Regions from separate parts of the Homo sapiens genome. Here regions 1, 2, 3, 4, 6 and 7 are each linked to region 5. The links are contacts of gene promoters, found by promoter capture Hi-C in blood cells and fetal thymus (Javierre and others, 2016). All regions are on one chromosome and are shown on one strand. The core of a region is centred on a gene start or on the middle of the fragment in contact, and the rest is flanking DNA. Distances in the headings are between cores, read along the strand shown. Region 1 overlaps GALNTL6 (polypeptide N-acetylgalactosaminyltransferase like 6). Region 2 overlaps LINC02268 (long intergenic non-protein coding RNA 2268). Region 3 has its middle 11 kb from the start of LINC02268. Region 4 overlaps LINC02268 (long intergenic non-protein coding RNA 2268). Region 5 holds the start of HAND2 (heart and neural crest derivatives expressed 2). Region 6 overlaps LINC02268 (long intergenic non-protein coding RNA 2268). Region 7 overlaps CEP44 (centrosomal protein 44).

Evidence for each region. Contacts are between HindIII fragments. The CHiCAGO score rates a contact against its expected background, and 5 or more counts as called.
Region 1: a contact is called between a fragment that was not itself captured here and the fragment with the promoter of HAND2 in region 5, in 1 of 17 cell types (non-activated CD4 T cells). The highest score is 5.1, in non-activated CD4 T cells.
Region 2: a contact is called between a fragment that was not itself captured here and the fragment with the promoter of HAND2 in region 5, in 2 of 17 cell types (megakaryocytes and M1 macrophages). The highest score is 6.1, in megakaryocytes.
Region 3: a contact is called between a fragment that was not itself captured here and the fragment with the promoter of HAND2 in region 5, in 1 of 17 cell types (endothelial precursors). The highest score is 5.8, in endothelial precursors.
Region 4: a contact is called between a fragment that was not itself captured here and the fragment with the promoter of HAND2 in region 5, in 1 of 17 cell types (megakaryocytes). The highest score is 5.1, in megakaryocytes.
Region 6: a fragment that was not itself captured here is called in contact with the fragment with the promoter of HAND2 in region 5 in 2 of 17 cell types (endothelial precursors and erythroblasts); the score reaches 6.3 in endothelial precursors.
Region 7: a fragment that was not itself captured here is called in contact with the fragment with the promoter of HAND2 in region 5 in 1 of 17 cell types (endothelial precursors); the score reaches 5.4 in endothelial precursors.

Annotation. Positions count from the first base shown.
Region 1 is chr4:172,969,615-172,973,201 of GRCh38, forward strand. All of the region lies in intron 10 of GALNTL6 (polypeptide N-acetylgalactosaminyltransferase like 6), which reads left to right. Among named protein-coding and RNA genes, the nearest start is that of GALNT7, 200 kb to the right of the region's middle. The HindIII fragment of the contact is 275 bases long and covers 1,814-2,088 here.
Region 2 is chr4:174,131,454-174,135,299 of GRCh38, forward strand. All of the region lies in intron 1 of LINC02268 (long intergenic non-protein coding RNA 2268), which reads right to left. Among named protein-coding and RNA genes, the nearest start is that of LINC02268, 87 kb to the right of the region's middle. The HindIII fragment of the contact is 170 bases long and covers 1,223-1,392 here.
Region 3 is chr4:174,230,064-174,233,723 of GRCh38, forward strand. No RefSeq gene overlaps it. Among named protein-coding and RNA genes, the nearest start is that of LINC02268, 11 kb to the left of the region's middle. The HindIII fragment of the contact is 759 bases long and covers 1,027-1,785 here.
Region 4 is chr4:174,109,516-174,113,472 of GRCh38, forward strand. The region is part of intron 2 of LINC02268 (long intergenic non-protein coding RNA 2268); the gene reads right to left. Among named protein-coding and RNA genes, the nearest start is that of LINC02268, 110 kb to the right of the region's middle. The HindIII fragment of the contact is 2,487 bases long and covers 121-2,607 here.
Region 5 is chr4:173,528,385-173,532,115 of GRCh38, forward strand. It overlaps HAND2 (heart and neural crest derivatives expressed 2), which reads right to left and starts at 1,845. Exons shown (of 2, transcript NM_021973.3): 1 at 351-1,845. The coding sequence starts at 905. It overlaps HAND2-AS1 (HAND2 antisense RNA 1), which reads left to right and starts at 1,987. Exons shown (of 5, transcript NR_136196.1): 1 at 1,987-2,155; 2 at 2,583-2,694. The HindIII fragment of the contact is 6,850 bases long and covers 1-3,731 here.
Region 6 is chr4:174,192,172-174,195,568 of GRCh38, forward strand. The region is part of intron 1 of LINC02268 (long intergenic non-protein coding RNA 2268); the gene reads right to left. Among named protein-coding and RNA genes, the nearest start is that of LINC02268, 27 kb to the right of the region's middle. The HindIII fragment of the contact is 1,809 bases long and covers 573-2,381 here.
Region 7 is chr4:174,285,259-174,289,206 of GRCh38, forward strand. All of the region lies in intron 1 of CEP44 (centrosomal protein 44), which reads left to right. Among named protein-coding and RNA genes, the nearest start is that of CEP44, 3.3 kb to the left of the region's middle. The HindIII fragment of the contact is 1,223 bases long and covers 985-2,207 here.

The DNA.
Region 1 (3,587 bases), core at 701-3,200, 560 kb before region 5:
CAGAAGACAATGAAGCAGTAGTTGTAAAGATGCTCAAGATAAGAAAATACAAGCCAAAGATTTTATATCCAACCAAACTATCCCTCAAGTATGAAGGTGGGTGCTATGATTTGAATTTGTCCCCCAAAGTTCATGTGTTGGAAACGTAATCGTCAATGCAACAATGTTGAACAGTAGGATGTTTGAGAGGTGATTAGGTCATGAGGGCAAAGCCGTCATGAATGCATTGATGCTATTATCACATATCGGGGGAACCAGCCCCCAATATTTCAATGTAGTTTATTTCTATTTTCCCTAAGTGTCAGCTGGTCTGAGAAATAAAGAGAAAAACCACAAAGAGAGGAATTTTACAGCTGGGCAGCCAGGGGTGACATCACGTATTGGTAGGTCTGTGATGTCCCCCAAGCCACAAAACCAACAAGTTTTTATTAGGGATTTCAAAAGGGGAGGGTGTGTACGAACAGGGAGTAGGTCACAAAGATCACATGCTTCAAAGGGCAAAAAAGGAGAACAAAGTTCACATGCTTCTAAGGCCGATAAAGATCACAAGGCAAAGGGCAAAGCAAGATCACAAGGCAAGGGCAAAACTAGAATTACTGATGAGGGTCTATGTTCAGCTGTGCATGTATTGTCTTGATAAACATCTTAAACAACAGAAAACAGGGTTCGAGAGCAGAGAACCAGTCTGACCTCAAATTCACCAGGGCAGGATTTTTTCCCCACCCTAATAAGCCTGAGGGTACTACAGGAGACCGGGGTGTATTTCAGTCCTTATCTCACCACATAAGACAGACAATCCCAGAGTGGCCATTTATAGACCTCCCCCCAGGAATGCAATTCTTTTCCTAGGGTCTTAATATTTAATATTCCTTGCTAGGAGAAGAATTCAGCGATATCTCTCCTACTTACATGTCCGTGTATAGGCTCTCTGCAAGAAGAAAAATATGACTATATTCTGCCCAACCCTGCAGGCAGTCAGACCTTTGGTTGTCTTCCCTTGTTCCCTGAAAATTGCTGTTATTCTGTTCTTTTTCAAGGTGCACTGATTTCATATTGTTCAAACACACATACTTTACAATCAATTTGTACAATAGTGGTCCTGAGGTGACGTACATTCTCAGCTTACAAAGATAACAGGATTAAGAGATTAAAGTAAAGACAGGCATAAGAAATTATAAGAGTATTATTTGGGAACTAATAAATCTCCATGAAGTCGTCACAATTAATGTTCAGAGATTGCAGTAAGGACAGGTGTAAGCAAATATAAAAGTATTAATTTGGGGAACTGATAAATGTCCATGAAATCTTCACAATTTATGTTCAGAGATTGCAGTAAAGACGGGGTAAGAAATTATGAAAGTATTAATGTGGGGAGCTGATAAATGTCCGTGAAATCTTCACAATTTATGTTCCTCTGCTGGGGTTCCAGCCAGTCCCTCTGTTCAGGGTCCCTGACTTCCTGCAACAATCACAGGAGTGGGTTATTGTGGGAGCAAGCTTCTAATAAAAGAATGAGTTTGGCTCCCTTCCCTCTTTCTGTCACCCCCATAGGATGATGCAGCAAGAAGGGCCTCATTGGATGCAGCCCCTCAATCTTGGACTTCCCAGTCTCCAGAACCATGAGCCAAATAAATTTGTTTATTAAAAATTATAGTCTGTGATATTCTGTTATAGCCGCACAAAACAGACTAAGACACAAGGCCATCAAAAAGCAGTTATAAATATTCAAGAACTCTGGGATTATTTTTACCAAAAGCCTTTCTGAGCAATCTGCTGGAGAAGGAGCATTAGAAAACCAAGAGCTGCTTGAAGAAGCTTGTTGCAGGCTCTGGTAGAAATTGGCTACAGGATGGAGGAATATACAAATTATATATAATCTGACAATGTAGAAATAATACAAGTAACAAGTGGGGAAAGTGAGTGGAAAGCAGAATACGTTTGCTGATTGTCGCATAGGCATTAACCAGGAGTAAAACAGTATCATCTATGTTTAGACACTGGGGAGGATGGAAGAAAAGCAGTAATAGTTATAGCCAACTTTAGTATTGCTTAGAGAAAGGTAGAGTTAGGCATTAATTTAAAAAGAGAAGCTTCAGCTATTATAAATAATATTAGTGTAAAGGCAAGAAGTGGAACAAAAACACAAACCATATTAAATACTAAAGATTGGAAAGAGAAAACAGGCCATATGGGAAAAGACCTTCTAGATAACAGTAAATTATGTAATAAATCAGTATGTCAGAGCTGAGATCAAACATATAAATCCACAGAAAGAAAAAGATTCAGATTGACTAAAAAGGCAACTCTCTCTGCTGTATATGAGACATACCTAAGTCAAAATGATAAAGAAACATTAAAAATTAAAGAATATGCATAAATATGCCAGGCAAATTTAAGTAATAAGAAAGAAGGGTTTGAGATCTTGATAGGAAGCAAGGTAGAATACAGAGAGAAAAAAAGTCAAAAAGTTAAAAGAGACTGAGAAAGACATTATAATATCAAAGACTGCAATTCATTGAAAACAACTTACATAAGGCAGAAACTGCTAAAAATCTAAGGAGAAACAGAAAGAAACATGCTAATAATAGAACCTTAACACACCTCTCTTGATCCAAGAATGAATAAGTGGACCAAAATGAATAAGGATGTATAGAACCTAAACCATGTCATCAATAATGTAGATCTAATATACCTATCTAACTCTAAAGCATTTTTGGAATTTACTTTCCTTTCAAATGCACAAATTTAAAAGTATGTTAATGTTATAAACAAATAAGATTTTTGAACACATATCAAAAGATATCTAAGCCTAAAATTAAAGAAACAAATACCCTACAATCTTAAACTTGAATTAGAAATTTCAACATCAGCTACTTTCGGAAAATAGCCACATTCTAGCTTTGTCCACTGAAAAAGTCTAGAAATAACTTCAATCCAATCAGTGAGCACACCTAGCTCTCAATTGTGGTCTCTAAATAGAATTGTTCACAAATAGAACTAAAGATTCATGAAGAAATAGCTGATTCTAGTTGTGGGGCAGGAAAGGTAGACGGTGGGCTGAGATAGTTTGTTACTCTAGAAAGTAGAAAGGGAAGAAAGCTTTCAAAGGCTGGTGGAGGTCATGTCAAAAGGACATGGGAGTCAGCTAGAAGGGGATCCCACTTGCCATAGATGAGACAACATGAACAATAAAAAAGTGACCCCATTAATTAAAACAAATTGAATATACAAAATGTTGTAAATTTAAAATGATATTTTTTAAAAGGGAGTTAGGAGAGAAAGAAAAATAAAATAAAAGTCACTGGGCACCAATGGCAGTTGCTTGGGCACCAAATCATGACTCTAGAAATTGAGATTTAAAGGGAAACAAGCATTTGTCTGGCTTTTCTGGTATAATGTGCATTTCAGGATGTCCAAAGAGCTCTGTAGTTGAGGGATTTTATACAGATGCTCAGATAATAAATTCAAAAGGAAAGAATTTTCTAAATCAACATTTTGCAATTCCTGATGCAATAACTGATTAAAGAAATGGTCCTCATTAGATAATAAAACCTTAGATGAAGTATTGATGATAAACTTCACAATAA
Region 2 (3,846 bases), core at 58-2,557, 600 kb after region 5:
GAGGCTGAGGCAGGAGAATACTTAACCCAGGAGGCGGAAGCTGCAGAGAGCCGAGATTGCACCATTGCCCTCCAGTCTGGGCAAAAAGAGTGAAACTCTGTCTCAAAAAAAAAAAGGACTGGCTAAAATTAAAACCTCATAAGGTACTAAATGTAAGTCATTTCTATCATTTAAATTTGCATTTGAACCCAAGGTGTGAGTGACCTGAGGATAATTTTTTATTATAGAATTCTACCACTTCAACTACAACTGAACCCAAATTTCACTTGCAATGCATTTGTCTTTCTCCTTATTGATTCTCAAATCACAGTTAAAACTGCTAATTTAGGATCTAAGATCAGGAACTGGATGGATTGAAGGAGTATTGCAGTGAACGTGAACAATGACTACTAAATGTTCATATAGAAGGGGGTTAAAGAGTAGTAAAATAAATTCTTGTAGGTTGGGGCCAAAAAATAAAAGCTCATACACATTTGTTTGATCTTAATGTCACTAAATTTGGAGTATGTTTCCTTTAAATAAATGTAGGACACTAATCTCTTTAAATTTCAAAAGGGAAACTTTCAGATGTGCTATTAGTAAATGTGCTATTATAGTAAAACTCCAAATAAATGATGGGTGGAAATCAAGCTGTTAGTGTAAAAGCAAGACATCTTTTTGGCTTTGGGCACTGGAATATTGCCTTTGGTTGATACAGCACAAAAACTAGAGAAATGTTGCAAAAAAAAATGTTTTAAAATACTTCCAGGAATAGACAGCTAGAATGGGTGGGCCATACTTCTATCTTAATGGCCTGTACATCAAAAAGTTTTTAACTCAATTTATTGGAAATGATTTTTTCCACTGGAAATCATCTTCACTAGAATCCAAATAGAAAATGGATTCGCATTTCCAATATTTGCTTTACAGTCATTAACATGTTTGTGTTGTTTAAAGTGACGTTTGCTCCACTTCTTACAATTGTGATTGTTTCTACCAAACAACTTCAAGATAACTTTAAAACAAATTATTTACTAAAACAGAAGGAAAGTAATGCAAGTCCTCAAATTATAAGAATCACTGATGGTGAAATATCTCTATTTTAAAATTTAATAATTAGAATGCTATATTTATTTAGTGGATATAATGAAAACACAACATTTTAAGTCTGTTAAGTATCATCTTACTAAGTCAGTGTTACCTTAAGAAGTAACTACTTACCTTAGCCACAAAAACTTTTTTAAGCTTACATAGGTTGCATGAGGCATCAAATAACTGACACTTTATACTTTAAAAGTCAATCCAATCAAAGAAGAGAATCCAAACCAATTGTTTTACGGTGGGAAACCTGGCTGATTATAGACACTCTTCTGAGACATACAGCCACAGCTCCATTTCGACAGCAACAGAAAAAGCTTAGCAATAATCCAAACATACATGCAACTTATGCCAATTATTTGTTATTTTCCTGTTTTGGATACAATTTTTACATGAATATATAACATATAATTTATTCGTGTATAAAATTTTCCTACCAGTAATCAAACTAAGAAAAAAAAAACATAAAATAATTGAGGATCATTGAGAAAGTTACATTTCAGGATACCAAATAATGGAAATCATAAAAAAGATCAAGGTTATTTCAGTTATTGAGGCAATATGACAAAGTTATATTTGGTTAAATAATATACACTCTATTATGACAAGTAAAATAATCAGTTTAAGTCTAAAAGTCAACAGTACAGACACTCTTTTGTGCTTCTACTAATGACAATTTTAAAAGAATTAATAATATAATTTACTTGGAATTTTGTGGATCTTTAATGTTTAGTAATGAATGTCTCTTTGTTACTTCAATTAGTAACTCCCCCAAATTGCAAATGATCCAAACAATTATTTGTACATTTTTCCAAAGAGATTTTTCCCAAATGTTTCAACCATGAGGAAGAAAAAAATATATATATATATATAATAAGAGGAGAGCTTTGTGTAAGTAATAAATGGTGAATATATTCTATATTAGTGTTTATTGAAAATCAGATATTACCAAACAAAATGTTGAAAATGTATTTATGTACAAATCCTCTTTGTTTGTTTTTTAACATTCAAAGATCCCACTATGACTTTAATTCTAGGATTATACTTTTGGATTTTTTTTTGTTATTTATTTTAAGAAACAGCTCGTATCTTTAAAGCTCTGGAATGGTGTAAATCATTACAGTGGTTTCACATTTTCATGGGATCAAGGAAACAACAGTAAGCTCATAAAACAGATACCACTAATTATGCAGAGAAGAAGCCATAAAGTCACTGGGAGAAGCATGTTTTATATTCATGAACACATCATTAAAAGTTTAAGACATGCTATCAAATTCTACATTTTAATACTATGCCCAACAGCATTAAACCCTCCCAACAAGAAAATCAGATTGTTTAATGATCCTTTTTGTGTCACACTGGTTTTATATGTCTGCAGTTGAAGCAGATGTGGAATTTGTATTGCTGAACTTTTTTTTTAAATCATTGGATAGTTAAAAAATCATTTATCCTTTATATCTAGTTAAAACAAAGAAGGTCTGAATCATCTTCCAATGTATATCTCTTAAATAAAATGTATTTGTTGAGGTAATAAGCCTCAATTCCATATTGCATGTATTTTTTAAATAATAATTTGGGTTTTCTTTAGAACATGTAAAAATGTAAAAGGGGTTAATAAGGATAAAATAGCTTCCATTTTAAATTAATTTTTAAAATGCTAAATAAAACAGAAATCAAATGAAATCAAATTTTATGAGGCCATATGAAAACACAAAAGTATGTGATATCATTAAGAGAAATCCAAGAATCATACAAAATGTTAATAATATTACAGACAGCAATTTTAAGAGCTGTTCATAGAACATCACATTTGCCACCAGTGCCGCACAGATTTAAACTGCAGCCTCTCTTCACTTGCCCACAAAGGGACTCCAGATGCGCTAATATTTTAATTTGCGTGTAATTCTAAAATGTTTCCATTTGTACATAATAAAATGCTCAGCATTCCACAATTTAAGCACATCTTGTAGACAGCTCAGCAATACACACTTTCTTGGATGGGATTTTACATAGTAATATGCTTCAAGCTTAATCTCAAAGTGAAAGTAAAATGGAGTTATGACAAATTTAGAGAGGAGGCCAAAAATGCTGCAAATGGGAAAAAATTAAGTAGGGGGGTTAGTTGTTGTGGACAAGAAATAAACTATATAAAAGTAAAGACATTGAAAAATACTTAAAATGTATAGGAGAGATTTATGCCCCATGGACAGAGCCTGAATAAAAGAGCCAATCACTTCAAGGAATTTAGTGGGGATTGATTATTTGAATTTGGTGAAGACGGTGTGTGTGGCATGTGTGGCGTGTGTGACGGTGGATGTCCATGGCAGAAGACAGGAAGCCTGGGGCTGCTCTCCTGCTGTCTGGCTTGGCAGTTTTACTTTGCTATGATTTCACCTACATTAAGTAATTTTTGATTGTTTTTCATGTCTTGTAGTAGACTTCCAATAATGAAGATGTGTGGATAAAATACTAGCCAAAAAATTCGCAAGCTTTGAATTTTGGACACATCAAATCAGGATAGACATTGAACAGTCTAAAAGCCACAATATTTATTATAAAATGTACACTAGCATGTTGCAGCAACACAAATCGATAAGCGTTGTGGACTACAAAGTGAATAAAACAATAATTCTATTGAACTGAAATATGGAGGGAAAGGTAGACAGATAATGAGGGATTATTATTATATGCCAATTTACTGTTTGATAAAACTACATTCAATCTATACATATGCACACACATCTACAGAATTGCAATTACTGTCAGGCA
Region 3 (3,660 bases), core at 156-2,655, 700 kb after region 5:
GGACAGGTTTTGAAATAAAATGATAAACACTGGTATTGGTAATTGCTACAAATACAAATAACAATTTGTACAATTGTTATTGTAATTTGGTATTGGTATTGTTTTTGGAATTAGCAATTGACATTTGGTGTTTAATTGGTATTAACATTTACTTAACTTTCAGTTAAACACAAATGTCAAATACAACAATTTGTACAATACTAAATACAATATCAGTATTGAAGCAAAAATATATATTCCATTTGCCACCTAGTAACTAGGTATATTCAGCAATTTGAGTTTAGCTAATGTCATCATTTTTAAACAATACATACATAAATAAGGGTGTATTAAGTCATATTGCAACCTTATACCTTAATTTAAAAACTTGATTATAAAATTAGTCATGCTTGTTTTTTAAAAGTATTTTGAACAATGAAAAATGATTTTACTTTTAAAAAAATGCTTCACTTTAATTCTTTAAGTTAAAAAATAGAATGTAACCTGAGATCCTAAAATTCCTTGTTTATTTTAATTTTTAAAACAAATTGAGAGGGGACATTAGTACAGATTTTGTCTTCAAAGTTTCCTTTAGAAAATGTCAACAACTTAAATATTTAAAAAGTGATTAACTACTTGCAAAGAGACTAAAAACAATATCTTAAGTATGTGAGTCCCCAAACATACATATTTCTGATTTAGACTTTTAAACTGTCAATACCAGAGAGACAACGCCACTGATGGGGACCTGGCACTAGTCCTTCCAGTTAATTTTTTCCTTGGAGAATGGTTTTGGGCGACAGAGTGGCGTCCGGCTTCCCAGGTTGTTGCACTGACAAACTGCAGTGGTGGCAAAGTCAAGGAGTCTGACAAAATCTCATTAATCATTTTAAATTAAATCCAACCTTCCTGTCCAACCATGCCAGGAAGAAAGCCTTTATTTTTTTTTTAACAAATAAAAATTTCCTCAGTAAAGATTTGATATCTTTCTCTTGTTGGTCTTTAATTTGATGAGACAAAAATAAAATAAAACAATGTACATTTTTAAGCTTGAAAACAAAACATTTGTCCAGATAATGATTTAACAGGTCAACTAAGTGTCTTTTTAAAATAAATTTTGAATAAAAATACATGGAAACATTCTGAAGGGAAAGCCTACTAGGTAAATTAGGGACATTGTTCATATTCTGAATAGTTTGATTAATTTATTTTGTTCTATCTAAAATATATGATCCTTAAGAAGATTTTAAAGAGGAAATACACAAAAAATCCACTATCTATAATATTTTGGTATATTTTATGCCAGTCTCTTCTTTGTATTCACAGGTTTTTGCTTTGTTTTATATAATAATTGTAATTTGTGTATATATATGTACAATACACACATGTACAATTTTATATACTTTATAATATCTGTAAGAATTTTCCCATATTATTGATAAATATCATTGCATCATAGTAATACATCATGAGGATGTATTTTGGTCTTCTCAACCAGTGCTTAGCATAGTGTCTGGTACATAGAATGTACTCGAATATTTGTTGGGTATTTGTTAGAATTTCAGTGTTTCCATCTCTTTTTTCTTTTAAAAACTGATGTAATTAAAGTTGTGCATATTGCCTTTTCCCAATTTGGAATTATTTCCTTAAGATGACTTTCTAGAAGAAGACACATTCACTTATGAATGCTTGACAAGAAACTGTAGGCAATAGTGTTATTAATAATGATATTTAGGAAAAAGTTCACTTTTGACACAGGAAAACAGGTTTTAATTTGAATAAACAAGTTGTTATTTTAAATATTAAAGCTTATGAATAAGCTTACTCTCATTGAGCACAATATTCATAATATTGTCAAAAACTTAGACCAATTAAAAGAAGTAACAAGATCAATGACAAACTCTTGATGTTTTTCTTATTTTTAAAAAAGGTCACCGAGTCTGCACGAAAAAAAGTAGGTAGGCAATCTCCAAGTAGCAATAACTCATTCAGATAGTTCAAATTATTTCTGGAGAGGTGAATTTATGTCTAGAATAATACACAGTTGAATCTTAATATTTTTTAAAAGTTAGCTAATATACTCTGGTTTGTAAATTGTGAAAGGTCTGGATGTATTTTTTAAAAATGGAAATAGTAAAGCCATATTTCTATGTGATTATATAGAATCTAAACCAGAGCAAAAATGATTCAACTGGATTTATTGAGAAACTACTCTGGGCTAACATCTGTGTTAGGCACTGAGTGAGATACAAGAACAAAATTTCCACCTGCAAGAATTAAGAAAGTTGTCCTGGAGGGGAAAGAATCTAACAGGACTTGGAAGGACAAATAACATTCAACAGGTAAATATGAAGAAAGGTTAACAGCTTTCCCGAAGAGAAACACAGTGCAAATGAATGGAAATATGAAAATACAGATTTTTATGAAAATACAAATTCATCAAGATTAGAGAGTGCTAATTTTAAAAGAATGTATTCAGTAAAAACCCTATTGATGACAAATTTGGAGGGAATTCTAAAAGTTGTTAAGCATTTTTGTTCTTTCCTCTCTTCTTCTTTTCATTTTCTTTTTCCTTCCTAGTAGGACACCAACTAGGAAACACTGAATTGCTAATTTGGTAAACATTTACTAAATGTTTATAATTAAGGTTTTTCATAGATAGAACATGTTAAAAATTTCTACTCACCTAGTTTTAAAAATAATCAGGAACAAATCCCTACTCAGTAATCATAGGAAGTAGAAAAAGAATACTACCCAATTGGAGAGGGTTCCACTTCAAGTGATGGTCAAGAAGTTCTTTCAGACCAACCTGCCAACATATGAAATTACAAACTCTGGACAAAATATTTAAAAATTAACTAACTGAAAGTAATAGAAAACAACCAAAAGCAGGTTGATCCTACAGAGGAGTGAATACTTAGAAGAAATAGCACTGGGTGAGTTTCCTATTTTTATAGTTCATAGCCTGAGGAACTCCTCACTCTGCATCATGTGGAGACTACAGTTGTATTGACTTGAAGAACACTAGGACACGTTTGGGGTAATGGCAACTGCTGGAAAACGCAGAGGGAAATCCTGATACGAAAAGAACCACAGAGAGAGCCCTAAATTCTGTGTATGACTCTGCTAAAGCTGGCTGGTCTCCCACGCATGCATGTACAGAAGAGATTTCAAGTACAATAGCCAGGTTAAAAAGCTGAACTAAAATCTGAGCTGCCACGAACTCTAGGGGAACCAGAGCTTGCAGCTGGCAGTTTGGCCAAGTTAACTAGCTGCTTTAAAAAAAAAAAAAAAAAAAAAAAAAAAGAAGCCTTTAGAGAAACAAATAAAAATCCAGGGTTTCTGCAACATTTTACTTACCATGTTCCAGACACAATCTAAATTACTCTACATATGAAGAAACAGGAAAATGTAACCCATTCTCGAAAGAAAAGAAAATTAGAGAAGACTGACAATGAAATGATCCAGAATATTGAAATGAATATTGAATATATTCATACATTAAAATAAGAATTTTGAAAATTGAATATTGAAATATCCAATACTGAAATATTGAATATTAAAATACTAAATATTAAAATAGACAAGTATTTAATATTGAAATAGAATACTGAAATGAGCCATCAAGTATCTTAGCTATTATAACTATGCTAAAAGGTGTAAGGAAAAATACACCAGTCA
Region 4 (3,957 bases), core at 114-2,613, 580 kb after region 5:
GAGGTGGGATTTATCCTTTTCTTTTAATCCAGATTTTTCTGACATTTCAACTATTTCTAAAAAAAGATGAGAAGGTAAGATCTCTGCAACAGCTCTGCAAGGGTGAAATAACAGATACAAAGCTTTATAACATTTTTATGTATTGAAGTTTTTAAACTATACTAGAATAAAGTTACAAATTTCAGGTAGTTAGCAAGAAATTTTGCCTGACTTTTGTATTTTTTTCTCCTCAAATCACCTTACAAAGTGTTTTTAAATCGTGACAACCTCCAGAATTTCTCATTTTATTTGTCTTGGGCTCATAAGTCTCTTTCATAGATATTTCAGCAAGGATTGGAAAAGGCAGGGTGAAAAAAAGAGTAAGACTTGCTTCATCATTTTAAAAACATCAGAACTAAAATATATTATGGACATAAATACAAACTTAGAGTTTCCAAAGTGGATACAATTTGTGCAGCTCAATGTTTGATATCTAGATATATTTGTAACATCTCAAAGCACTCTGCCCTGATTTTTTTAGACAGATTTACAGAACCCAGCTTAAGTTAACAGAAGTTGTAAATTATGTCTAAGTGGAATTTATAAACAAAAGTTAAAGTTGAGCATGCAAGGGAATATTGAAAAGTTTGCATAATGCTGTCAACATCTACAGTGCCAATGTTCATCCTTTCTTTTGTTATTAGCTGAACTTTTTTCTGTATACATGGATATATGTCTGAGTAAGTACGTGTGTACAGATGTATGTTTTCAAATGAAACAAAGCTGTGCAGTTATTATCGCAGGGGCCGACTGGTCTCTAGGAGCACGTGCTTCCCCTGGCCTATTAAAATACAGTACCAACATTTCCCTCCTGTAGCATTGTGAGTGTGATCTGACGTGAGCTTGCGTTTCTGGGAAAGCGCCTGGAGAATAGCAATTTAATTTAGAAACTGCTCAGCGTAAGTGTTGGGTAGGGTTTGACGGTACTGCATCAGGTGATGAGATAAATTTTCAGAGATACCACAAAGAAAGGTTGGAAATGTCATCAGAGAGTTTATATTAAGTGTAGTTTTCCTACAAAGAAATTGATTTTAAACACCATTTAAATTTATAATCTGTGTCAGATTTCAGTGTTTTATTGCATTACAGAAGTTAGATATTAGTACCTTGTTTTCAAACTGTTTTGGTACCTAGTATGGGCTTTTTCTTGAATTGCAAACATTGCTATTCTTTTGGATACTATTAAGCTAATAGCCAAAATGGAAATTCGTATGTCATGGAGATGACAAATATGTCTCCTGCTAATTGAAATGCTCTAATGTTGTTAAATAGTATTTTCGGATATGTTTACTCTTCTATAGCCTTTTTCATTCTTATTATACAGTCAGATGTTAAAATATGTGCATATATATATATATATATATATATGCACACATGCATATACACACATAATTTTATAGTTGGATTAGACCTAGAATGTCTTCAAAAAAATTATGAAAAAATTCCTCCTTCTCCACTTATCATCATTATCTAAAAAGCATGCATTCAGCTCAAATTTTATTGAGCACGCACAATGCATCTTAAGTAGTATTATATATTGTCCCTGAAATTAATAGGGGAAAAATATTTCAGTCTAGATGAAAATCGTGTTCATTAGTAACCGATACAATGTTATTTCCAAGGATACTCAACTTTATTTTCCTTTTGATGACACTCCGTGGAGAGAAAAAGTTGTTTAATTCTAAAATTGGACTGTTTCTTCTTAACTGGCCTATCAGCTTGCTTCTCTTCCTGCCTTTTTATTGAATCCATACTTTGTATTTCAGTGGCCCATTAAATTCTTCCTGCTTTTTAGAGTTTCTTTGAAAATATCTTGTGAATACTGCAGGAGAAAAATTGCACTGAGTGTTACAAATCTCCTGTATTCTCTAAACAGGGACAGAAATGTCTTTGGGTTTTGTTTGCTTTGTTTTGTTTTGTTTTTAAAGGAAGGATAGAACATTAACACATGACAACAGTGAGATTACACAGATAAATTTTTGAGTCCTTTTATCTAGTAAACATTCTAATGACCTACTTCAAAGGCAGGCTGGGAAGAAGCCTCCCTGTCCTCCTGCCAGAATGAGAGGCGAAGCTCTTTACCACTCATATGGGAGATATGAGGAGACTTTGAATGGATCATTGCTTTTTATGAGTAGTAATGAGGTGAGAAGTATTCTAGTGTGTGGCACAGGCCTTCATTAAGAAGCGTGAAACAGAATGGCTTATGGTTAAAGGGGGTAATTTGTTCTAACATACTTGCTAAATTGTGTTGTAACCATGCCAGTTAACAGCACTATATTTTCCATAGGATTCCTGAGTGCATTTGTGTGCAATTATTCTTCCCATACAAAATTCAGGGATTTTTCCAATAGCTTGTGTTAACTAGTTGACAATGCTCACTCCTTCAGTGGAAAGTACACGGAGCCCCACCGTTAAAAAGGGGTGAAAGAATCCAGAGATGTTCTCATTCTCTTTCTAAAGCCAAAGGGTTCTTGTAAAATCAAAAATTCACAGAACCCAAAATTAAATGAATACCATTTGTCCAAAAGGTAACATCAGAAGTAATAGGTAGTTTAATAACTACAAAGCTTCAATTTTCAAATATGCATTATAATTAATAGAATCCATAAGAAAGAAAATAAGATTTGGTGGTTTCAAGTCCTTCATTAAAAAAAAAAGACAAGAAAAACTGAAAAGTAAGAGCAATAATTTTGCTACATTTGTGAGGAAATTCTGCTCATAACAGAACTTGAAGTTCTACAACATACCAAGATTGCTTGTTCAGACTCTTACTGGGAACATTGAGCTAAGATTTTGTTCACTGGAAAAATCTTTCTACTTAGAGAAACATAACATGAAAACATAACATGTTTTTTTCACATGACCAACTATCAAATGAGAAAATGTTGTAGGACAGAAACATAAAGGTTTGGACAAGACCCAGAATTTGGGTATGTCATACGGGAAAACTATTTTATAAGTGGCAACTTTTTAAGACACATTATTACACGGGAAATGTTATAACATTAAAATTTGAGGGGAATATCCCTATGAATTTTCTGGAATTTTCTTGAAAGGCAATAACACGAATATGCATTGTTTTATAAAATATTTTGTAACTGATGGCACAATATTATTGTAATAAAAACATTAATTAAATATAATTGATAGACAATCACAGACTGAAAATGGAGACTTAAAATTTAAGCACCAAAAACCTTTACAGTGAAACAGGAAGTATTCATGTTTGTCCACTCTCTGGAATTTTTGAGCCTTTGCTGTGGGGGAGAAGAATTTCCGTTTTGTCACTTTCCATCCATTTCATTATTATTCAGTTTTTGCACATTCGTTATTTGATATTTTGAAAACAATGTTTGCAATCATAGGTAAGTACATGATTCTAGCTTCAAAAATAAATACTGTCAAACTTAATAGAAACCAGGCTGTGGGCCTCCAATAAATGTAATAGGCCCAGCCTCTCCTTTCTACTTCTTTTATTGGGTTTTCAGGAAAGTCTATGAAAGAAATTCTAATTGCAGCTGCTCCTAGCCAATGCTTAGGTTCTCTTCCCCTTAGAGAGGGAAATGGTAGCTCTGGGCTATACGGTGGAATGAGTGGTTTGGTGTTTGTTTTTTGTTTTCAAGCTAATTGAATATGTAGCATAGTAAATAACAAAAATTATATTTACACATTGCCTAATTTTCCTCACTGCGCCACAAGGGGTAAACCAGATACAGCTGTTATTTGAATACAAAATAACATCTTATTCAATGCTAAATTCACTGACCTAGAATGTTGCCCAGAGAGAACAAATCTTTTTATCAATGTCTGAATAGTTATTCTCAGAATGAATTTCACCTTTCCTCAATTTAACACAAATATGAACACTCTGAGTTAATAAGTGACAACTAGGATAGAAAACCTGGAGACTGACAT
Region 5 (3,731 bases), core at 595-3,094:
AAAGAAGGGTCTAACAGAGACGGGGTGAGGCATCCAGACCAGTGCGATCGCGATCGATCGCGACCCAGAGTTTTCAAGGTCCGTCCTAAGTACTAGGGGAGCAGCGATAACCCGGAGGTAAGATCACCAGCGCAAAGCATCCCTAACCTTCTCCTCCTCCTGCTGACACCCTCCCCTCAACTCTCTGCTTATGCCGGAAGCCATCCTTACACAACCTGGTGCAAACAACCTTGAAGCGGGACGCAGCCAAAGAACACGAGATGCCATTTCTCAGCCCAATTGGAAAGAGGCCGGGAGCACCAGTTCCCTGACCCCCTCAGCCCCACCGCCTGCCGCCCCCTGGTACTGACCAGCTCCTTCTTCCTCTTCTCCTCTTTCACGTCGGTCTTCTTGATCTCTGCCTTGAAGGCCTCCGCCTCGCCATTCTGGTCGTCCTTGGCCAGCAGGTCCATGAGGTAGGCGATGTAGCTGGTGGCCAGGCGCAGGGTCTTGATTTTGGAGAGTTTGGTGTCGGCGGGTACGTTGGGGATGCACTCGCGCAGTTCGGCGAAGGCGCTGTTGATGCTCTGAGTCCTGCGCCGCTCCTTGCGGTTGGCGGTGCCTCGGCGCTTCACCGGGCGCGGCCCCCCCAGGCCCGGGGGCCCGGCGCCCGGCGGCACCCCCCCGTAATGGGAGTGGTCCAGGCCGGCGGCGCCGCTGGCATACTCGGGGCTGTAGGACAGGGCCATGCTGTAGTCGGGGGGCGACATCTCGGGGTGGCCGATGAGCCAGCCATGGAAGTAGGGGTTCTCCTCATGGCTGCAGCGGCTGGCGGCGGCGGCGGCAGCTGCGGCGGCGGCGGCGGCAAACGGGTAGCCCTCGTGGTGCACCACCGGGTGGTGGGGAAAACCACCTACCAGACTCATTTCGCCCTCCGCGCCCCTCCACGCGCCCCAGCGTGCGCGCAGCCCCGCCGCGCCCTCGGCCCGGGCCCCTGCCTCAGCGCTCGGCGTCCTCCCCCACCCCCCACCCCCCAGCCCCCGGGCGCCCGGGCCCGCCCGGCAGCCGCAGAGGGGGCTGCTGCAGCCCGGGCCCCGTCCCCCCGCCTGGCCAGCCGGGCCCGCCTCAGCAGCGCTGCGGCCGCCGGCTCCCCATGGGGCGCGGCGAGCTGGTCCTGGCACCGTGCGCCCCTGGCCGCCGCCGCCGCCGCCTCCGGTTCCCGCCTTGCTCCACGGCCCGCGCTTCGGCTCCTGCTTCCCGGGCTGCTGCGCGGAGGCAGAATCCTCTCGTGCTCATACAAAGGTGCCGGGGCTCCCGCGAGGCTGGTACGCGGAGTCTCGGGAATCCAAGCCCGGGCCGCGGTCCTGGCACCGAAGCTAACCCGGAATCCAGGGGCGAGTCTGAGCCGCGGCTGGAGGAGCCGGTCCAGCTGTGCCGGGGGGCGGCGGGGTCGACTGCTCACTGCAAAGCTACCTCCGTGCGACCCTCCCCTTCCCGCCTCTTCCCCTCCCCCCACCAGCCCGATCTGGGTTCTTGGGCGCTTATTGTTTTAATGAAATTTTTGGTTGTTGTTGTTTTGGTCCTTAAATGTGATTTTAGCTGCGAGTAACGTGTCCTCGCTCCTCTCGCGCTCTCTCGGAGGGTTTTCAGAGAGGTCTCAGTGCATCCATTTTCTCAGATCCTCTCCTTTCGGGGCAAGGATCTGGGGCCCTGAATGAGCCTTGGAGCTCGAAGACCGCGGCTCGGGCTCTCGGAGGGCTCTGCGCGGTGGCCGAGGAAGCTCCGGGGTGACGGCGGTGGTTCTCCTGGGCTGGACGACGTGAGGGGAGCAAGCGGATTTTCCCAGCAAGATCTCCATGTACAGCTACATCTTTAGGGCCGCTCGGGTTAATATATGTCGTCAGAGGCTCCTCACGCCAATCCCGGGGCGGCAGGGGCGGCGCCTCGAGCTCTCGGCAATAAAACTTTTTGATGTTCACGTTGCTAATTGCCGAGGTCCTCTTCCAGGATTGGCTACCTCCTCATAACCATAAGATAATTAAAACTTGGCGGGGGGGGGGGGCAGGGTTAAAAAAACTTTTTTTATCAGTCAGAGGATAATGCAAGTGTTTAACAGATGCTTCACTATTAAAATATTTTCCCCCCAAGTCTCAAATATTGAAGAATCTCTAACCAGGTACAGTATCACTCTGCTCTCTTTTCTGGTTGAAAAGAAAGAAAGAAAGAAAACGCAGGTATTGCTTTTCGAAGTGCTTTGTAGGTAATCGAGGTAAGAAAATATACGCAGGCAGCCTCTTACAATTTTATGCAGGGGCGCCGGGAGCCTCGTGACGGGCGGTGGGGGCCCCCACAAAGGCGCGGCTGGGAGCTGGCGCTCTTTGCCCCAGCAGGGACGAGGAGCGGCTGGAGAAGGGTGTTTCTTTGACCCGTTTACAGGCTCGAAACGCCGGTCTCAGTGGCTATTGAGTTACCCACCAAGTTACCCCGGTTAGAGCTGTTTGGGGTGGCTCACGTTATTGCGGCAAACTTTGGAGATGACGGCTGAGTCCTCCGGGCGAACATGTCAAGCCGATTGTAAATGCTGTTATTTCCACATCCTTCAGGGACACCAGTCCCTACGAAGACCTTGGGCGATTTTGAAGTGCGGGCACCTCGATTCCCCGAATCTGTAGTGTGGCTGGTATCGGTGTTCCCCTGGTTTAACTAGCCTGTTTGGTAAGTAACTGAATATTTTTTACGGCGTGTTCAGAGCTTATTTTCCAGTTTTTATGAACAAACATATAAATATATCTCTGCATTCCTGCCTCCCTCATAAAAGCGGGCATCTGTGGAAAGCAGGTTTAGTTATCGGAGGGGAACCATTAAACGCCAGTTTAAGAGGCAGGCCGGGAGGACGGCTCGTGGATGTTGAGACTGCTGGCCTTGGTGATCTTGAACGCATTATAACGGAAAATGGATCTCCACTTGTAAGTCACCGGGCCGCGGGGCACCCGGGCCGCAGCGCCCGTGTGGCATGAGCTTCTTGAGAAGGCTCACGTGCGGCGAGGGCGGGTGGTAAATGGCAGGAGCTGAAATCACCCCAGGCTTGGCCCCAAGCCGAGAGGGGAGGCTGATGTGTATATGCAGATTCCACCCGAAGGAGTTCGGTGTGGAAAACGGTGTCAACAGGAGCCCGCGGGCTGTAAATTAGAGGGAGGCGAGGGCCTGCGGCGCCAGCGCGGGACAGGGCGGCCTGGGGCTCGCCGCTGGTCAGGCCAGGTTAGCCCAAGGGAGACCAAAGACTCCACCTTGAGCATCGCCCTTTGGAGGCGGGCAGAGTCCGGCCGCAGGCCACAAAGCGATCCCCACCCGAAGGACTCCACAAGGACAGTCCTTTCCTTGCTCACCGCCGACAAAGTGGTTGGGGCAGGAAGGCGAGGTCAGTGCGAATGGAGGGCGCCCAACTTCGGTGTTGCAGTTGACTCTGTGCTCGGGCTCTGCCCTCCACTAGCCCTAGAGTCTTGGGCAGCAGGATTGAGAAATATATATATTTCAGGTTTGCCGCGGCTGGGCGGTAGGAGACAGGGACTTAAAAGCCCAGGATTAGAGTCGGTGCAGGGCCCATTCTTTTTCTAGGAAAGGGGTTAACATCCTTGAACGTCCCCAGACAAGCGTCTTAAAGCATTGAACCTAGAATAGGGATTAACTGAAACTAGGCTCGTTGGTAAGCGCCAGGGGCTTGCAGTTGAGCTCGGAACAAAATAGTGACCTAC
Region 6 (3,397 bases), core at 227-2,726, 660 kb after region 5:
TATTTTTTGAGAATAATGAAAATATCAAAAAAGGAATTGCTTTTAACCATACACTTGCATTCACGTTTTTCTTCCCTTGGGAGAACATCAGTTTATTGATTTTTATAATTAATCTGGACTAACAGATGTCTGACTGATTAGTTCTGGTAACAATATTTGTCATTTTTGATATCTTCTCAGCTGTTCCATATGGGATTTTTTTTTAATTTCTATAGTTTCTTAAATCAGAGCCAATGTGTAGTCATTTCTTGACATTTATGACTCAAATTTTGGTACTGCTAAACTTTTAAGAATTTCTCACACTTAGTTCTCATATTTCTGCATTCTTCACAGAAACAACTGCAATCTCCTCTTTCTTCAACTTTAAGGATGAGGCTGACACTGTCAACACTGTGAGAAAAGTAATGCTAGATGGGGGCATGAATATCCTAGAAGTGTTCTAAAAAGGAGCTTTGTTAGAGGACAGGTAGGTAGAAGATGCTGAAAAGCATGGCTTTCCCAGATGCCCTTTCTAGTATCATCACAGTAAGAAACAGCGGTATGACCAATAAAACTAAATAAAACAAAAACCAAGCTTTGTTCGGGTAGTACAGTTTGTGGTCAAGAACATAAGTTCTGGAATTGTACAATTTGGATCCCAGTTCTGACTCTAGCTCATGATCCTGGATGAGTTATTTAACCACTCGGTTTCAGCTTCCCCATATAGAAAAATGGGATTAATAGTATCCCAACCAACCGCACTACTGGGAAGACTAAAAAGAGAACACTTGCAAGGCACTTATCACAATGTCTGGCAGACAGTGAATTCTCACTAAATCTTTGCTATTAACTATCGTTTTGAACTTCAATTGGCTAATCATACTTATCAAAATACCTTCTGGGAAGTGCAAGTCTTTAGTCAATATTGCACGTGTGTTTACCAAGGGCCTACTCAGCAATATCGCAGTCATAAATACTCATTATGTTGCTGATAAAGTCTATCTTAGCCATGTTCTCTAGAAACAGAGCCCAAGGCAAAGCAGATGTGCTAACACTTTATTGGGGGAGTACAATCCAGGAATGCAGTCATGAAAGCAAATGTGAGGGAGATAGAAGGGAGTGTGTTGTTCTGGATACAGCTTCATGATAAGTTGACTGCCCTTTTGCACAAGATCTCTCTGGTGGACGTTTATGAAAGTATGGTCCTTTTAGGGTAAAGGAGAGAATAAAACTTATCTACCAGCACTCACACTATTCAAAATTTGCCCCACAACCATTAACACTTATAGGTTCTATATACACGGGTGACCATCAGATTCCCTAGTATCCTGCTAACTTCTCAGCAGCAGGGAAGCCACAGGACCAGAAAAAGAGGTGTTCATTGAGGAGAGTAAGTTAATGATTTAGGAACATTTCTATGAAAAACACAAGGAAGTATGGAGAAATTGCCACAGCAGGCCCACTCATCTATAGGAACAGGGACACCTCCGGCCAGAGAGCAAGGCAAGTGCATGGGGCTGGGGTAATGACTCAGCTCACTGATGCACACACTAGCTTAGGGAGCTCTGAGCTGAGGGAAACAGGATTGAGAATTACTAGACTAATCAAATCATACCTCTTTCTTTTCTAAATTTTCTGGGCCTGGGGTATATCAAGTTTATCTGAATGTCTCAAGCTCTCATGGATGGACTTTTCTATCTCCATTAGGCCCCAAGAAATCTACTATCGTAACTGATTTTCAGTCTTTTCAAATCCCATTTTATTATCTGTCATATGAATGAATGAAATAATAAAAAATCAAATACAGACAAAAAACAACTGAAGCAACCTATAACAGTACAGTTAGAAAACATGACACACATAAAGAAAAGAACTTCCTCAATTATTGTTTTCAAAAGTGATGTTAAAAACTGCTCATATTGAATAATATTTAGACAAAAGTATCTTTAGGGTGTCTGTGCAAGTTAGTGTTTCACATGCATTTTACTGAGATGCCATGATCCCTGGAGGCAAACCAGAGCTACTTTGGGTATATCACATAACTGAAAAATAGCTACTTTATCTCAAAGAAAATATGAGATAATTGGAAAACTTTAAAGAAATATTCTAGTTAAATCTGAATGGAAAGAGGTGTGAAACAGATGAAAAATATGAAGATTTTTTAGATGATGCCTGGCTCACAGAGATCCTACTTTAGTCTGTTAGACCGGCTTCACCAAACAGCAAATAAATTGCCACTGCACTGAAGTGAATTTGATCATAACATGAACAAAAATAACAGCAGTTTTAGAAATTAAAAAGAATTAAAGGGAGAATGGTACACTAGATCATCTGAAGCAGGTCTCTAATACATTAGAAAAGCTGGACAAAATGTATAAAATATTTACTTTAAGGCATGGTAAAGCTTACGTGTTAATGAAGTTACTAGTTCAGGATCCTGAAGTATAAAAGATAATCAGAAAAGTAAGTCCAGCTCTGTGGCCACTTTTCCCCTGTTTTGTGGGGTTCTGTCCTCTTAATCTGAAAGAGAAAAGGTGAGAGAGGGAATGGTGCTTTTGACTGAGAGAACAGAAACAGTCCAGAGCCTGCCAAAGGGAGTTCCCAGTTGAATTCTCCTTATTTTGAGTTGAAACTCTGGAGGAATGAACCTTCAGATGAAAAGGGTGAAAGAAAAGATAAGAGTGGGGTGGTGGTGTACAGCACTCATAGGAACTGTAATTGAGCTTAAAATCATCTCAATACTGAAATTGAGTTAAGATAATCCCACTTGGCTCGTGCTTCCAGTTACTTGGTAGGGGGAAAAGCAAATCCTCTCTGGAAATTACAACAGTACCCTGTTTTCCAGAATATTATTAAAAACAATTGTGTAAACACAATGTTCAGAGAATATTTTTTAAAAGCAGGTACAAAAAAGCAACACTAGTGAAAAACAGCAAAAACAAACAATACAAACACACTCACAGGAACACCTAATTTGGAGTTAACATTTACTATGTTCAAGGTCAGGGACAATATTTCAAATTTAAGTAGAGCACTAAAATCTATTTTTAAAAATGAAAATTTCAGAACAGAAAATGAAATAACCAGAATTAAAAAGCTCAATGGATGAGTTTTATAGTAAATCAAATACGGTTGAAGAGAGATTTGTGAACTGAGATGTAAATCCGAAGAAAATTTTCAAAATGAAGCATAAAGGGACTAAAAAACAGAAAATACAGAAGAGAAAATAAGAATGATTCGGAGATATAGTATAGTATAAAAGTTTAACAACAATGGATAGAAGCTCCAGAAGAAAAAAGGAAGAGAATGAACAGGAGTTATATTTAAAGGCAAAATCACTGGGAATGTTCATAAACTGATGAAATAAATGAAGCCAAAATTGAAAAAACTATAAATGCACAAAAAGGAAAAACTAAAA
Region 7 (3,948 bases), core at 346-2,845, 760 kb after region 5:
TAAGTAATAGATTGGCTTCTTTTAATGTCTTGTTTTTAAGGCTTTTGAATTTTATAGTAGACTTAGTAAAGCCCTTTGTGAGAATGTAGAGCAGTAGCTGTAATTTTATTCTGTGATAATCCCAATTTTAAATCCCTTTATTTTTCTGTCTCCTATCACTTACCTCGTTCACGAGCTCTGCTTGTATTACTCTTCAAAATATTTATTCACTGGTACTGAAGAGAGACATAACTTTGTTGTCAGAAATTCCATTATCAGAGGTAGAAATCATGTAAGAGACACTGAAATGTTTTCCAAAATGTCAGAAAAAGGAAAGGTGAGAAGATATCATAAAGTGTTACGTAAAACAGAATTACTTGCACTGGGAAAATGGAATATACATCTGGAAGGACTAAAGGAAGTCTGGAAAGACATAGAATTTACATTAAAGTTACTGGGAAGAAGGTATCCCTAGAAGAATTGTGTTACGATAGATGGGTCTGGAACCCGAAAGAAGCTCAGACCTACTATATTGGCCAGTGGCAAAATCCAAGAATACATTTTTTGCGGTTAAAGCCAGAGTAGTCCTCACTTCATGTTTTTCAGGAAAGTAAAGGCTTATCTTGGGAAATCCCTTTTAGGCTTCCGTGTGTCCATCTACCCCCAGTCAGTCTAAAGGATATTAAATAGGGTTTACCTTCTTGGCCAGTGTTTTGTATAATGTGATTTCAGGATGACTTTCTCTTTTTCTAGTTATCTCCCATTTGACAGTACCTAAAATTATCTCTGTCTAGAAATGTAAATGTTTAGTTGAAGTAATTTATTGGCTGAAAAATAGTGACTAAAATGTGCATGCACAAGTCTATAAAGTATATTCAATAAGCTGTTGCCTACCATGTTGATAAAGGAGACTAGGAACAGAAAGGTAGGTTCATAAAGAGGGAGCAGTTGCTCTACCCTGGGGAAATGGCTGTGGAAATGAGTGGCGAGGGGCTTAAAGTAGGAAGCTTACTAAATTTAGGATTTTGTAAATCGGTGACCTTCTTACCTTTCCTTATTTAAAGATAGAGAAACGGTGTGTAAAGGGATGATTTGTATCCTGGACAGCTGGGTAATGCGAATTGGAGGAAAAGATCACACTAACCCAGCTTCACCTGATTTATGAATTGTTCTGTTTTCATTTTAATATAATGACTTCATTTTAATGTGATAACTTCATTTTAAAGGAGCTTCATTCTCAAAGGGTTCATTACTCAAGGTATTGTTATGTATTACTTTTCTTCTATGAAGTGTCCATGGACAGTTGTGGTAGATGTTTTTATGTAAGTTATTGAGTTTCACGTTACTGGCTGACTAGACTTTTATAGTTCAGAAACTTACCTCCTTCCAGCAAAGGTTCTTAATCGTTTATATACCTATTTATGACTCTTCTTTGGGAAAAATCTCCTTTGATAATCTAATGAAAGTCCCACTCCATGCAAGAAAATTAGTCATTTAGAAATAAATTCCATGCTATTACTTTTGGGGCAGTTTTTAAAAAATGAATCATTTTGTTTAAAGTCTCAGTTCGTTCAAATCTTTTGGTTCACGTATGTGTTTTTCTGTTGTGTACATTCTTCAGAGTCATATTCCTGTTTCATAGGCCCCATGTATGTCAGCTTTTAGTAGGTATCACCAGTAAGTTTTCCAAAATAATTGTACCATTTACTCTTTCTGTAAAAAGCATAGATATTTTGAATTTCTTGCCTTTTTTTCTGTGTTCACCTTTTCTTCTTGGAAGTAGACAGCTGGCTAACCAGCAGGAGTTTGGGACCGATGACAGTGCAAAACATCTTGACTGACAATGGTGGTGGCTTATTAAAGTGAAGAATCAGCATCAAGAGGGGGAATCGGTGTATTCCTTCTATTTCTAGGCCATTGGGATATAGGTCGTTATGGGACCCCAGGTAGTAACCCAGCTCATTCTGAAATAGAGCTGAGAAATGACAAGGATTAAGTGTTGCTTTTCAGGTAGAGTGCTATTTTGGACCCTTGGCACAGATTTTGGTTCTTTATTATGATAAGTACCAAGAAGGAAAAGAACTGGGTCTATTAGAGAAAATTAATGAGGGGGATTAATTAGTTTGGGATCTAAGACTTATTTGAGGTGGTGACATTTAAGCAGGATGCCGAGGGGTATTAGCCAGATGGAGAATGGGAGAGGGAAGGAGTTGCTCTGTATCTCTTCAAGCTTGAAGAAATGGCATGTGCAAAGGTGTTGAACAGCTTGAGATATCACCAAACATCCTTATCCAGGTCCAGGAACTTTATCCCAGATACCATTTCTGTTATTTGTTGCTTTCTATAATATTTTAAATTAACTAAATCACACACATTCTCTTTTTCATCATTACTTGGTAAGTGGAATGTTTTGATTTTCCCTTCTGGTTATGATTTACATGTATTAACTTATTAATACACGAAGATCAAAAAGTGACCAAAATTGTTCAAAAGGTACAATTTATTATAGGATAATTATAATTATTTCATGCTGACAATATGTTTATAAGTGTTTTGCAGTAACCTTTTTGTTTCTATAATTTCATGGTAAGAAAGAAAATGAATTAGGTAGAGCTAGTAATACCAGGTATAGACAAGAATGTAGTATTTAAAGCTAATATCTGAAATTCTCTTCTTGCATCTGCTAACTGAACGAGAAAATTCTGTGTGTGAGAATGGAAAACTTTGGGTGAAAAGTGAAAACTTGGATTTTGTAGTCCAGGCCCTTAATTAAGTAGATAACACACTCAGAAGGAGAAAATTTGGGGTGCTTTATATACAAAGGGACTATTTTTAGAGGTGTGTGTACAGGGATCTGGTGCTGCTTCATTTTTTAACCTGTTTATTGCGGTATGATTGACATACAGAAAGCTATAGACATTTAATGTATACAGTTTCTGTTTGGAGATAAGTAGATATTGTGAAACCATCCAACCATTATTACTACAAGAAATCAATGCCATCACCTTGAAAAGTTTCCTTCTACTCATCTTTTTTTCACGTTTTGTGATAAGAGCACTTAACATTAGATCTAACTTCTTAGCAAAATTTTAAGAATACAATATTGCTAATCACAGACACTGGGTTGTACCTGCAGATCTTATTTATTTTGCCTAACTGAAACTTTGTACCCTTTGAACAACAGCTTCCCATTTTGTTCTCCCCATGTTCCCTTACAACCACCATTCTATTCTCTGCTTGCATGTATTTGACTATTTTAGATTTCACATACATTGAGATAATACAGTATTTGTCTTTTTGTGTTTAGCTTATTTCACTTAGCATAATGTCCTTCAGGTTCATCCATGTTGTTGCAAATGGCAGGATTTCCTTCTTTTTTAAAGGCAAATTTGTTTATTCTCACATTTTTGTTGGGGTCCCTAAGGTTTTCTACATCTAAGATCATGTCATCTGCAAACAGATATTGTACCTCTTCTCTTTTTATTTGGATGTTTTTAATTTATTTTTCTTACCTAGTTATTCTGGCTAGGACTTAAAATACTACGCTGAATAGGAGAGGCTAAAGTAGGCAACCTTGCCTTGTTCCTCATCTTATGGGGAAAGCTTTCAGTTTTTTATCTTTAAGTATCTTAGCTGTGGGCTTCTCATAAATGGACTTTATTTTGTTTTTCCTTTACCTAATTTGCTATAAGGTTCTTCCATACCTAGTTTATTGGGAGTTTTTATCACAAAAGAGTATCGAATTTTGTCAAGTGCTTTTTCTGCATCTGTGCAGATGCCCATGTGAGTTTTATCCTTCATTCTATTAATGCAGTATATTACATTGGTTGGTTGTCATATGTTGAACCATCCTTGCATCACAATGAAAAATCCTACTTGGTCATGGTATATGATTCTTTTAATGTGCTGTTGTGTTTGGTTTGCTAACATTTCATTGAGGATTTTTACGTCTATATTCATCAAATGTAT